Regions from separate parts of the Homo sapiens genome. Here region 2 is linked to region 1. Evidence: promoter capture Hi-C in human tissues and cell types (Jung and others, 2019). All regions are on one chromosome and are shown on one strand. The core of a region is centred on a gene start or on the middle of the fragment in contact, and the rest is flanking DNA. Distances in the headings are between cores, read along the strand shown. Region 1 holds the start of IRS2 (insulin receptor substrate 2). Region 2 holds the start of LINC03061 (long intergenic non-protein coding RNA 3061).

Evidence for each region. Contacts are between HindIII fragments. The study calls those that stand out against the background at their distance.
Region 2: a contact is called between a fragment that was not itself captured here and the fragment with the promoter of IRS2 in region 1, in 1 of the 25 tissues and cell types used here (mesenchymal stem cells).

What each region holds. Positions count from the first base shown.
Region 1 is chr13:109,784,210-109,788,969 of GRCh38, reverse strand. IRS2 (insulin receptor substrate 2) reads left to right here and starts at 2,387. Exons shown (of 2, transcript NM_003749.3): 1 at 2,387-4,760. The coding sequence starts at 2,917. LOC124903211 (WAS/WASL-interacting protein family member 1-like) reads right to left here and starts at 1,886. Exons shown (of 2, transcript XM_047430835.1): 1 at 1,525-1,886; 2 at 1-1,370. The coding sequence starts at 1,877. The coding sequence ends at 1,133. RefSeq lists silencers at 1,990-2,159, 2,180-2,409 and an enhancer at 3,251-3,880. The HindIII fragment of the contact is 26,611 bases long and covers 1-4,760 here.
Region 2 is chr13:109,264,440-109,269,377 of GRCh38, reverse strand. It overlaps LINC03061 (long intergenic non-protein coding RNA 3061), which reads right to left and starts at 3,891. Exons shown (of 2, transcript NR_185883.1): 1 at 3,711-3,891; 2 at 1-1,767. RefSeq lists an enhancer at 1,149-2,107. The HindIII fragment of the contact is 6,977 bases long and covers 1-4,938 here.

The sequences.
Region 1 (4,760 bases), core at 1,138-3,637:
CAATACGGATATGAAAATGCAACTGCATAATAAAAGTCAACATGAAAAAGAAAAAGATTGCAAAATATACTTTCTCAGAAGAAACCATCACATGATGTTTAAAAGTGGTGGTTCCTTTAGCATTGTCTACTGATGGCTGGCAACATACAGGAACATAGAGGTGGCCCATTTACATCCTCATAAAAGTGGGATGTAAGTGATCACAAAGCCAATAAAACTACACCACATTTTCTTCAAGCACCAAGATAAGAATCCCTTCATCTTTCCTGACTAGACATATTGCTAGGCAACATTTGTGAACGTAAGAAAAGGTAACAAGATCTAAAAAGAACGCCGAAGCATAATGTTCATAAAGGTGGCGCCCCCAACACACACAATCATACACACATACCTATACACACACAATCACACAATCTATTATATAAACAAACACGCACACATGCACACATAGGTGCACAGACTTAAAATGGCATTTCTTGAGGTATTTTTTTTTAAGGTATGATTTAAAAATGGAAGATCAACTTTAAACACACCTTTTTGAGGCACACTGGGTGATATTTGCCACAATGATTATTCTTCCCAAATTCAGGCTACTGATCAATAATCCTAACTGTATACATGCTAAAAATAAAAACGCTATAATCTTTGTACTAGTCAGGGCTCTCTTGGCACATAAAATTAGCCAACACAATCTTCAAGTCACATGTTACAAAAACATATTAAAATATATATCACTCTTTCAAAAATTACACTTATTTTCTCTTAGATTAAGATTTTATTACTTTTAAGATACTTCTATGAATTATAGAGGACATCCAAAAGTAAACATCCGGGACTTAAAAACAATAACCAATATTATAAGATAAATTATTGCTGTAAATTATTTCATGAAGGCACAATTAAAAAAAAAATAAAATAAACAGCCAAAGCCTGTTTTGTTGAGTTTTCTTCGTTGCGCAGGATCGGGAGCTTGCTGGGATCTGAACTCAGGAAGCCCTCACCTCACCCTGACTTGGTCATTGAGGAGACGTAATTGCAGGGGTGCTTATTTGCTATAGGCTTTGAAAGTCACAAAAGCCCAGTAGATACATGAATTCGAAGCAGTTCTCCAAGGGCATCTCCAACTTGGCAGTCACCGCCCGCACCGCGCACACAGGTAGTGGACGCCCGCCCACCTGCCCGTCTGCTGGGCGCAGGGCGCTCCTGGGGTGGGGAGGGCGCTCCTGTGGGGGGAAAAGGGGCGCTCCTGCCTCGGAGGGGGAAAGGACGCCCCTGTGGAAGGAAGGGGGGGCTCTTGAAGCGGTGTGGTGAGAGGACGCTTCCGAGGAAGGAAGGGGGTGCTCCTGCAGCGGTGGGGGGAGAGGACGCCCCTGCGGAAGGAAGGCGGCGCTCCTGCGGGGGCTGGAGAGACGCCCGCGCGGTCTCCCGGCTCAGGGACCGCTGGCTCGCGGGTCCGCCCTCTCCCCGGCGCTATGGAAACCGCACTTTCTCCGCCTGCCGTCCCCGATCTCTTTCTCCTATTACCTCCCAAACGCGATTTCAACTTCCCGACAAGCTGACAAGTGAATGGCGCAGAGGACGCCCCGTAAAGCGCCCGCGAGCGGGTGGGACACAGGCGCCCCCTCCGCGCCCCTCTGTCCTCCACGGAAGGGCGCGCGCCGCTCTCGATCTGGAGCGCGGTGCTCGCGAACCCGCGGCCGCGGGCCCTGGAACCTCCCCGCGTTTCGCGGCTGCGGGGGGACGGAGATGCGGCCGGGAGACGGGGACGGGAAACGGGGGACGGGGATGGGGCGCGCCCACCCCGAGCGCGGGAGCGGCCGCCCTCGCCCAAAATGGGGACCCCGCGCCCCGAGAGCACGGCCCGGCTCGCCGCCCATGCTTCCACTGCAAGGCCGCAGCCCCCGCCGCCGATCCCGATCCCCCGCCCCGCCCAGCCGCGGCCCCGCCCGGCGCCCCCTCCCCGGCGGAAGCTCAAGCCCAATTAATTGAGTCCGAGGCGGGAGGGAAGGGCCCTGCGCGCCGTGGCCCGCCCCGCCCCTCTTCCGCGCCCCTTTTCCCGCCCTGGGTGGCATCTCCTCCGCCGGCATCCACAACAAGCCGCTGATTAATGAGGCCGGGGCCGCCCCACCCCGCCCGGCCGGGCCGGGGCCTTCGCGGGAGGGGGAGGGGACGGCGGGAAACGCGGCCCGGGGAGAAAGGGGGGCGGGGCGGGGGCGCGCGGCCCGCCCCCGCGAGCGCCGCGCCGATTGGCCGAGCGCGCCGTCCGTCGGGGGGCGCGGCGCCAATGCGAGGCAGCGGGGCGGGGCGGCCGCGCTGTGTGTGCCTGCGTAACGCCGAGTCACATGTTGTTTTGCTCTTCTTAGTTCAGTCACTCGGTGCGCGATGTGTTACTCACTGTGCGGCGGGGACCGCGACGAGCCCGGGTCGCCGTTGGCAGCAGCAGCAGCAACACCAGCAGCAGCAGCAGCCCCGGCGGCGGCGCGGACCCCGAGCGCCCGGGCGCACCCCGGCTTCCCGGAGCGCGACGCGGCGGCAGCAGCCCCGGTGCGGCCGCGCGCGCCTTAGGCTCGGCCCCGCGGCTCGGGGACCCCGACTCCCGGCCCAGCGAGCGCGTCCCCCGGCGCCGCCCGAGAGCCCGAGGAGGCAGCGGCCGCAGGCAGCCGGGGAGGGGGGCGGCCACCGCCCGCGCCGGGCATCCTCAGGAGCCCCAGAGCGCGGAGGGCGCGGCGCCGCCGAGCGGTGCTGGCCCCCGCGGGCCTCCCCGGACCTTCCCCACCGCCTGGGCCCGAGGGACGCGTGATCGGGCGGGCGGCCGGGCGCAAGGGTGGGAGGGAGCCGCCCCCGCCCGCGCCCCCTCCGCCCCTCGCCCCAACCCCTGGGCGCCGGGCCCGGGCCGCGCGGCCTGAAGCGCCCGCGATGGCGAGCCCGCCGCGGCACGGGCCGCCCGGGCCGGCGAGCGGAGACGGCCCCAACCTCAACAACAACAACAACAACAACAACCACAGCGTGCGCAAGTGCGGCTACCTGCGCAAGCAGAAGCATGGCCACAAGCGCTTCTTCGTGCTGCGCGGACCCGGCGCGGGCGGCGACGAGGCGACGGCGGGCGGGGGGTCGGCGCCGCAACCGCCGCGGCTCGAGTACTACGAGAGCGAGAAAAAGTGGCGGAGCAAGGCAGGCGCGCCGAAACGGGTGATCGCTCTCGACTGCTGCCTGAACATCAACAAGCGCGCCGACGCCAAGCACAAGTACCTGATCGCCCTCTACACCAAGGACGAGTACTTCGCCGTGGCCGCCGAGAACGAGCAGGAGCAGGAGGGCTGGTACCGCGCGCTCACCGACCTGGTCAGCGAGGGCCGCGCGGCCGCCGGAGACGCGCCCCCCGCCGCCGCGCCCGCCGCGTCCTGCAGCGCCTCCCTGCCCGGCGCCCTGGGCGGCTCTGCCGGCGCCGCCGGGGCCGAGGACAGCTACGGGCTGGTGGCTCCCGCCACGGCCGCCTACCGTGAGGTGTGGCAGGTGAACCTGAAGCCCAAGGGTCTGGGCCAGAGCAAGAACCTGACGGGGGTGTACCGTCTGTGCCTGTCTGCGCGCACCATCGGCTTCGTGAAGCTCAACTGCGAGCAGCCGTCGGTGACGCTGCAGCTCATGAACATCCGCCGCTGCGGCCACTCGGACAGCTTCTTCTTCATCGAGGTGGGCCGCTCGGCCGTCACAGGCCCCGGCGAGCTGTGGATGCAGGCGGACGACTCGGTGGTGGCGCAGAACATCCACGAGACCATCCTGGAGGCCATGAAGGCGCTCAAGGAGCTCTTCGAGTTCCGGCCGCGCAGTAAGAGCCAATCGTCGGGGTCGTCGGCCACGCACCCCATCAGCGTCCCCGGCGCGCGCCGCCACCACCACCTGGTCAACCTGCCCCCCAGCCAGACGGGCCTGGTGCGCCGCTCGCGCACCGACAGCCTGGCCGCCACCCCGCCGGCGGCCAAGTGCAGCTCGTGCCGGGTGCGCACCGCCAGCGAGGGCGACGGCGGCGCGGCGGCGGGAGCGGCGGCCGCGGGCGCCAGGCCGGTGTCGGTGGCTGGGAGCCCCCTGAGCCCCGGGCCGGTGCGCGCGCCCCTGAGCCGCTCGCACACCCTGAGCGGCGGCTGCGGCGGCCGCGGGAGCAAGGTGGCGCTGCTGCCGGCAGGGGGCGCGCTGCAACACAGCCGCTCCATGTCCATGCCCGTGGCGCACTCGCCGCCCGCCGCCACCAGCCCCGGCTCCCTGTCGTCCAGCAGCGGCCACGGCTCGGGCTCCTACCCGCCGCCGCCCGGCCCGCACCCGCCTCTGCCGCATCCGCTGCACCACGGCCCCGGCCAGCGGCCCTCCAGCGGCAGCGCCTCCGCCTCGGGCTCCCCCAGCGACCCCGGCTTCATGTCCCTGGACGAGTACGGCTCCAGCCCAGGCGACCTGCGCGCCTTCTGCAGCCACCGAAGCAACACGCCCGAGTCCATCGCGGAGACGCCCCCGGCCCGAGACGGCGGCGGCGGCGGTGAGTTCTACGGGTACATGACCATGGACAGGCCCCTGAGCCACTGTGGCCGCTCCTACCGCCGGGTCTCGGGGGACGCGGCCCAGGACCTGGACCGAGGGCTGCGCAAGAGGACCTACTCCCTGACCACGCCAGCCCGGCAGCGGCCGGTGCCCCAGCCCTCCTCTGCCTCGCTGGATGAATACACCCTGATGCGGGCCACCTTCTCGGGCAGCGCGGGCCGCCTCTGCCCGTC
Region 2 (4,938 bases), core at 1,897-4,396, 520 kb after region 1:
GGAATAATGTGGGAGGCCAGATTGAAGTCTGGGCCAGGAACAATGGTAATTGTGGGACTTAACAAAGAATGAGTACAGCTGAAGGAGCCGGGGAGCAGAAAGTATATGCGTCAGGTATGAGGAAGAAAATAGATTTTGGAAGTTATGAGAAATGTAGAGAGTGAGTTGAACATAGTTTGTGATTTTTAGGGCCTCTAAAATTATTAAAGCAGCGGCAGCTGCTGCATGCAGACATGAGGGCTAGGCTAAAACAGTAAGGTCAAGTTGTTTGGACAGAAAGGCTACAGGGTGGGGTCCTGGCTCTTGTGTAAGAATTCTGACCGCACTAACCATGCCTAGGAAGGAAAGGAGTTGTTGTTTTGTAAGGGATTGAGGTTTGGGAGATTAATCAGACACCATCAGCAGGGAGAGCACCTGTGTTTTTGTGAAGAATTATGCCGAGGTAGGTAACGGATGGAGAAGAAATTTGAGCTTTGGAGGGGGATACCCGATATCCTTTGGAGAATAAATGCTGAAGGAGCAGAAGTATGTCTTGTTGAGAAGATTCAAAGGAGGGGCTACAAAGAAGAAGGTCATCAATATATTGAATAAGGTGAGAAGTGGAGGGGTGGAAAGAAAGTAGATCATGAGAAAGAGCTTGGCTGAAGTAATGAGGGCTGTCCCTGGAACCTTGCGGCAGCACAGCCCAGGTAAGCTGCTGAGCCTAATGGGTGTCAGGGTCAGTCTAAGTGAAGGCAAAGAGAGGCTGAGATGAAGAGTGCAAAGGAATAGTAAAGAAAGCATGTTTGAGATCCAGAACAGAATAATGGGTAGTAGAGGGAGGTATTGAGGATAGGAGAGTATATGGGTTTGGCACCACGGGGTGGATAGGCAAAACAATTTGGTTGATAAGGCACAGATTCTGAACTAAGTTGTAAGCCTTGTCTGGTTTTAGGACAGGTAAAACGGGGGAATTGTAAGGAGAGTTTATAGGCTTTAAAAGGCCATGCTGTAGCAGGTGAGTGATAACAGGCTTTAATCCTTTCAAAGCATGCTGTGGGATGGGATATTGGCATTGAGTCGGGTAAGCGTGATTAGGTTTTAATGAGATGGTAAGGGGTGCATGATCGGTCGCCAAGGAGGGAGTAGAGGTATCTTATACTTGTGGGTTAAGGTGGGGGAATACAAGAGGAGGACGCAAAGGAGGCTTTGGATTGGGAAGAAGGGCAGCAATGAGATGCAGCTGTAGTCCAGGAATAGTCAGGGAAGCAGATAATTTGGTTAAAATATCTCGGCCTGATAAGGGAACTGGGCAGGTGGAGATAACTAAAAAAGAGTGCATAAAAGAGTGTTGTTCAAGTTGGCACCAGAGTTGGGGAGTTTTAAGAGGTTTAGAAGCCTGGCTGTCAATACCCACAACAGTTATGGAGGCAAGGGAAACAGGCCCTTGAAAAGAAGGTAATGTGGAGTGGGTAGCCTCCATATTGATTAAGAAGGGGACAGACTTACCCTCCACTGTGAGAGTTACCTAAAGCTCGGTGTCCATGGTGGTCTACAGGGCTTCTGAGGCGATCAGGCAGCGTCAGTCTTCAGCCACTAAGCCAAGAAGGAGTCAGTCAGAGAGCCTTGGGCCAGAGTTCCAGGGGCGCTGGGAGTGGCTGCCAGGTGAGTTGAACAGTCCGATTTCCAGTGGGGTCCCGCACAGATGGGACATGGCTTAGGAGGAATCCCTGGGCTGCAGGCATTCCTTGCCCTGGTGGTCAGATTTCTGGCACTTGCAGCAAGCTCCTGGGGGAGGAGGTTCTGGAGGAATGTCTGGCCACTGCGGTTCAGGCATTTGGAAGTTGTTGTGTGCTGGAGATGTGGCTGGGGTTTGTCTCACAGTGGAGGCAAGGAATTGCAACTTCCTTTTTTTTATTATTGTACACCTTGAAGGTGAGGTTAATTAAGTCCTGTTGTGGGGTTTGAGGGCCAGATTCTAATTTTTGGAGTTTTATTTAATGTCGGGAGCAGATTGGGTAATAAAATGTGTATTGAGAATAAGATGGCCTTTTGACCTTTTAGGGTCTAGGGCTGTAAAGCATCTCAGGGTTGCTGCCGAACGAGACATGAACTGGGCTGGGTTTTTATATTTGATGAAAAAGAGCCTAAACGCTTCTGATTTGGGATAAAGAAAAAGGAGCATTAACCTTGACTATGCCTTTGGCTCCAGCCACCTTTTTAAGAGTAAATTGCTGGGCAGGTGGGGGAGGGCTAGTCACAGAACGAAACTGTAAGCCAGACCAGGTGTGAGGAGGGGAGGCGATAAAAAGATTACAGGGTGGAGGAGCGGAGGCTGAGGAAGAATTGGGACCTAGCTTGGCCTGGCAAGGAGGGGAGAGGTCAGATGGGTCTGTAGAAAAGGAAGATTAGAAAGACTCAGTGACGCTTGGGGTTGGGACTGAGGGGACAGGCGGGAGGGAAAGAAGGAAGATTCAGAATGAGTTGCACTGGGCACAGAGACTAGGAAGGGACTGATGTGTAAAAGAATGCCTGGATGTCAGGCACCTCAGACCATTTGCCCATTTTATGACAAGAATTATTTAGATCTTGTAGGATGGAAAAATTGAAAGTGCCGTTTTCCGGCTATTTGGAACTACTGTAGAGTTTGTATTGGGGTCAAGAGGCATTGCAGAAGAAAATGAGACACTTAGATTTTAGGTCAGGTGAGAGTTGAAGAGGTTTTAAGTTCTTAAGAATACAGGCTAAGGGAGAAGAAGGAGGAATGGAAGGTGGAAGCTTGCCCATAGTGAAGGAGGCAAGCCCAGAGAAAAGAGTAGAGACACGGAGAAGGGGTGGGGGTTTCTTGCCCTCCAGAAAAGCAGAGAAAGGGTTGGGGCACAGAAATAAGGGATTGGGGCACAGAGATAAGAGGTCAGGGTGTGGAAATAAGGGATTGGGGGTTCTTGCCCCCTAGAAAAGTGGGAAGGGGGGTTGGGGCATGGAAATAAGGGATTGGGGCACAGAGATAAGAGGTTGGGGTGTGGAAATAAGGGATTGGGTCACAGAAATAAGAGGTCGGGGTGTGGAAATAAGGGATTGGGGGTTCTTGCCCCCTAGAAAAGCGGGACTTGCCACTAAGGGTGAAGGAGAAGGGGTTGAGGGGTACTTTCCCCTCCCCCAGAAAAGTGGGACTTGCCACTAAGGGTGAAGGAGAAGGGGTTGAGGGGTTCTTGCCCCTGCCCCAGAAAATCAGAGAAGGGGTAGAGACAAGAAGAGAAGGGGTTGGGGTACTTGCCCCTTCCCCAGAAAAGCAGGGAAGGGGTAGAGACACAGAGAGAAGGGGTTGGGGTACTTGCCCCTTCCCCAGAAAAGCAGAGAACGGGTAGAGACACAGAGAGAAGGGGTTGGGGTACTTTCCCCTTCCCCAGAAAAGCGGGACTTGCCGCTAAGGGTGAAGGACCAAGGCAGGCATCCCTGCATGGTCTGACACCCTTGAAACGTGGGTGAATAATCAGAGAGGTGTCCCTGCAATGATTAAACAGCAAGGGAAGGCTGCCTTCCCAGTCCGTGACCAGCGCTGGAGTTTTGGGTCCACAGATAAAACGTGTCTCCTTTGTCTCTACCAGAAAATGAAAGGAATTGAAACTAAGAGAAGGGAGAGATTGAAGTGTGGCGCCAAGATTGAAAGGAGAAAGAGGTTGAGGGATAGTGAGGGAGGTTGGAGAAGAGAGTAAAAAGAGGCGGCTTACTGGATTTAAAATTGGTGAGATGTTTCTTGGGCTGGTTGGTCTGAGGACCTAAGGTCGTAGGTGGATCTTTCTCATGGAGCAAAGAGCAGGAGGACGGGGGATTGATCTCCTAAGGGAGGTCCCCCGATCCGAGCCACGGCATCAAAGTTCACTCGAGTCCATGTGAAGAGACACCAAACAGGCTTTGTGTGAGCAACATGGCTGTTTATTTCACCTGGGGGCAGGCGGGCTGAGTCCGAAAAGAGAGTCAGCGAAGGGAGATGGGGTGGGGCCGTTTTATAGGATTTGGGAAGGTAATGGAAAATTACAGTCAAAGGGGGTTGTTCTCTGGTGGGCAGGGGCGGGGGTCACAAGGTGCTCAGTGGGGGAGCTGCTGAGCCAGGAGAAGGAAATTCACAGGGTTAATCACTCAGTTAAGGTGGGGCAAGAACAAATCACCATGGTGGAATGTCATCAGTTAAGGCGGGGCAGGGCCTTTTCAGTTCTTTTGTGATTCTTCAGTTACTTCAGGCCATCTGGGCGTATACGTGCAAGTCACAGGGGATGCGATGGCTTGGCTTGGGCTCAGAGGCCTGACAGTTTTTATAAGTGACCTAGTGGGGAGGCAGTATTTTACCTACATAGGGTGTGAAAAAACAGTTAAGACCAGGTGTACCATCAGCATAGAGTGCGAATCTCTGGCAGCCCCCATCCCAGCCTTTTATTATGGAGGCGGGTCCTTTGCCTGAGCTACTCCATGTTGCTTTCCTACTGTGCAGGTGCAAAAAAAAGAAAAAGAAAAAAAAAAGTGGGAGGCGGAGCCCTCATGGTGCACATGACTGGCCCCAGGTACCCCTTTCTAGTGCGGCAGCTCCCAGCTGCAAGCTTCCAGCTTCCTTATCTATGTTTGCAGCACAATCTTCCAGGCTGCTCTTTGTTAGGAGACACGTGTTTTCTTGGGCTGCTTTTTGTGAGAAAGGAAGTTCTACTGAGGAATTTTGACCTAGCTATCTGCCTAGCTATTCTCTTTTTACTTCCTCGCTCACTATGGGGTCCAGCCAAATCCAGTGGCATTGGGAATGGAAAGGAAGCAAGAATGGCAGATTATGTGGGAAGGTTTCCAATCAGCTAATTGGACTTAAGGGACAAGGGAGAAGTCAAAATAATGATGGAAATGATGGCCAAGGGAAGGGTCTTATTGTTAAAGAAAGCTCTGGGAAGGGAGATAATAGGTGTTTATAGCTATTTC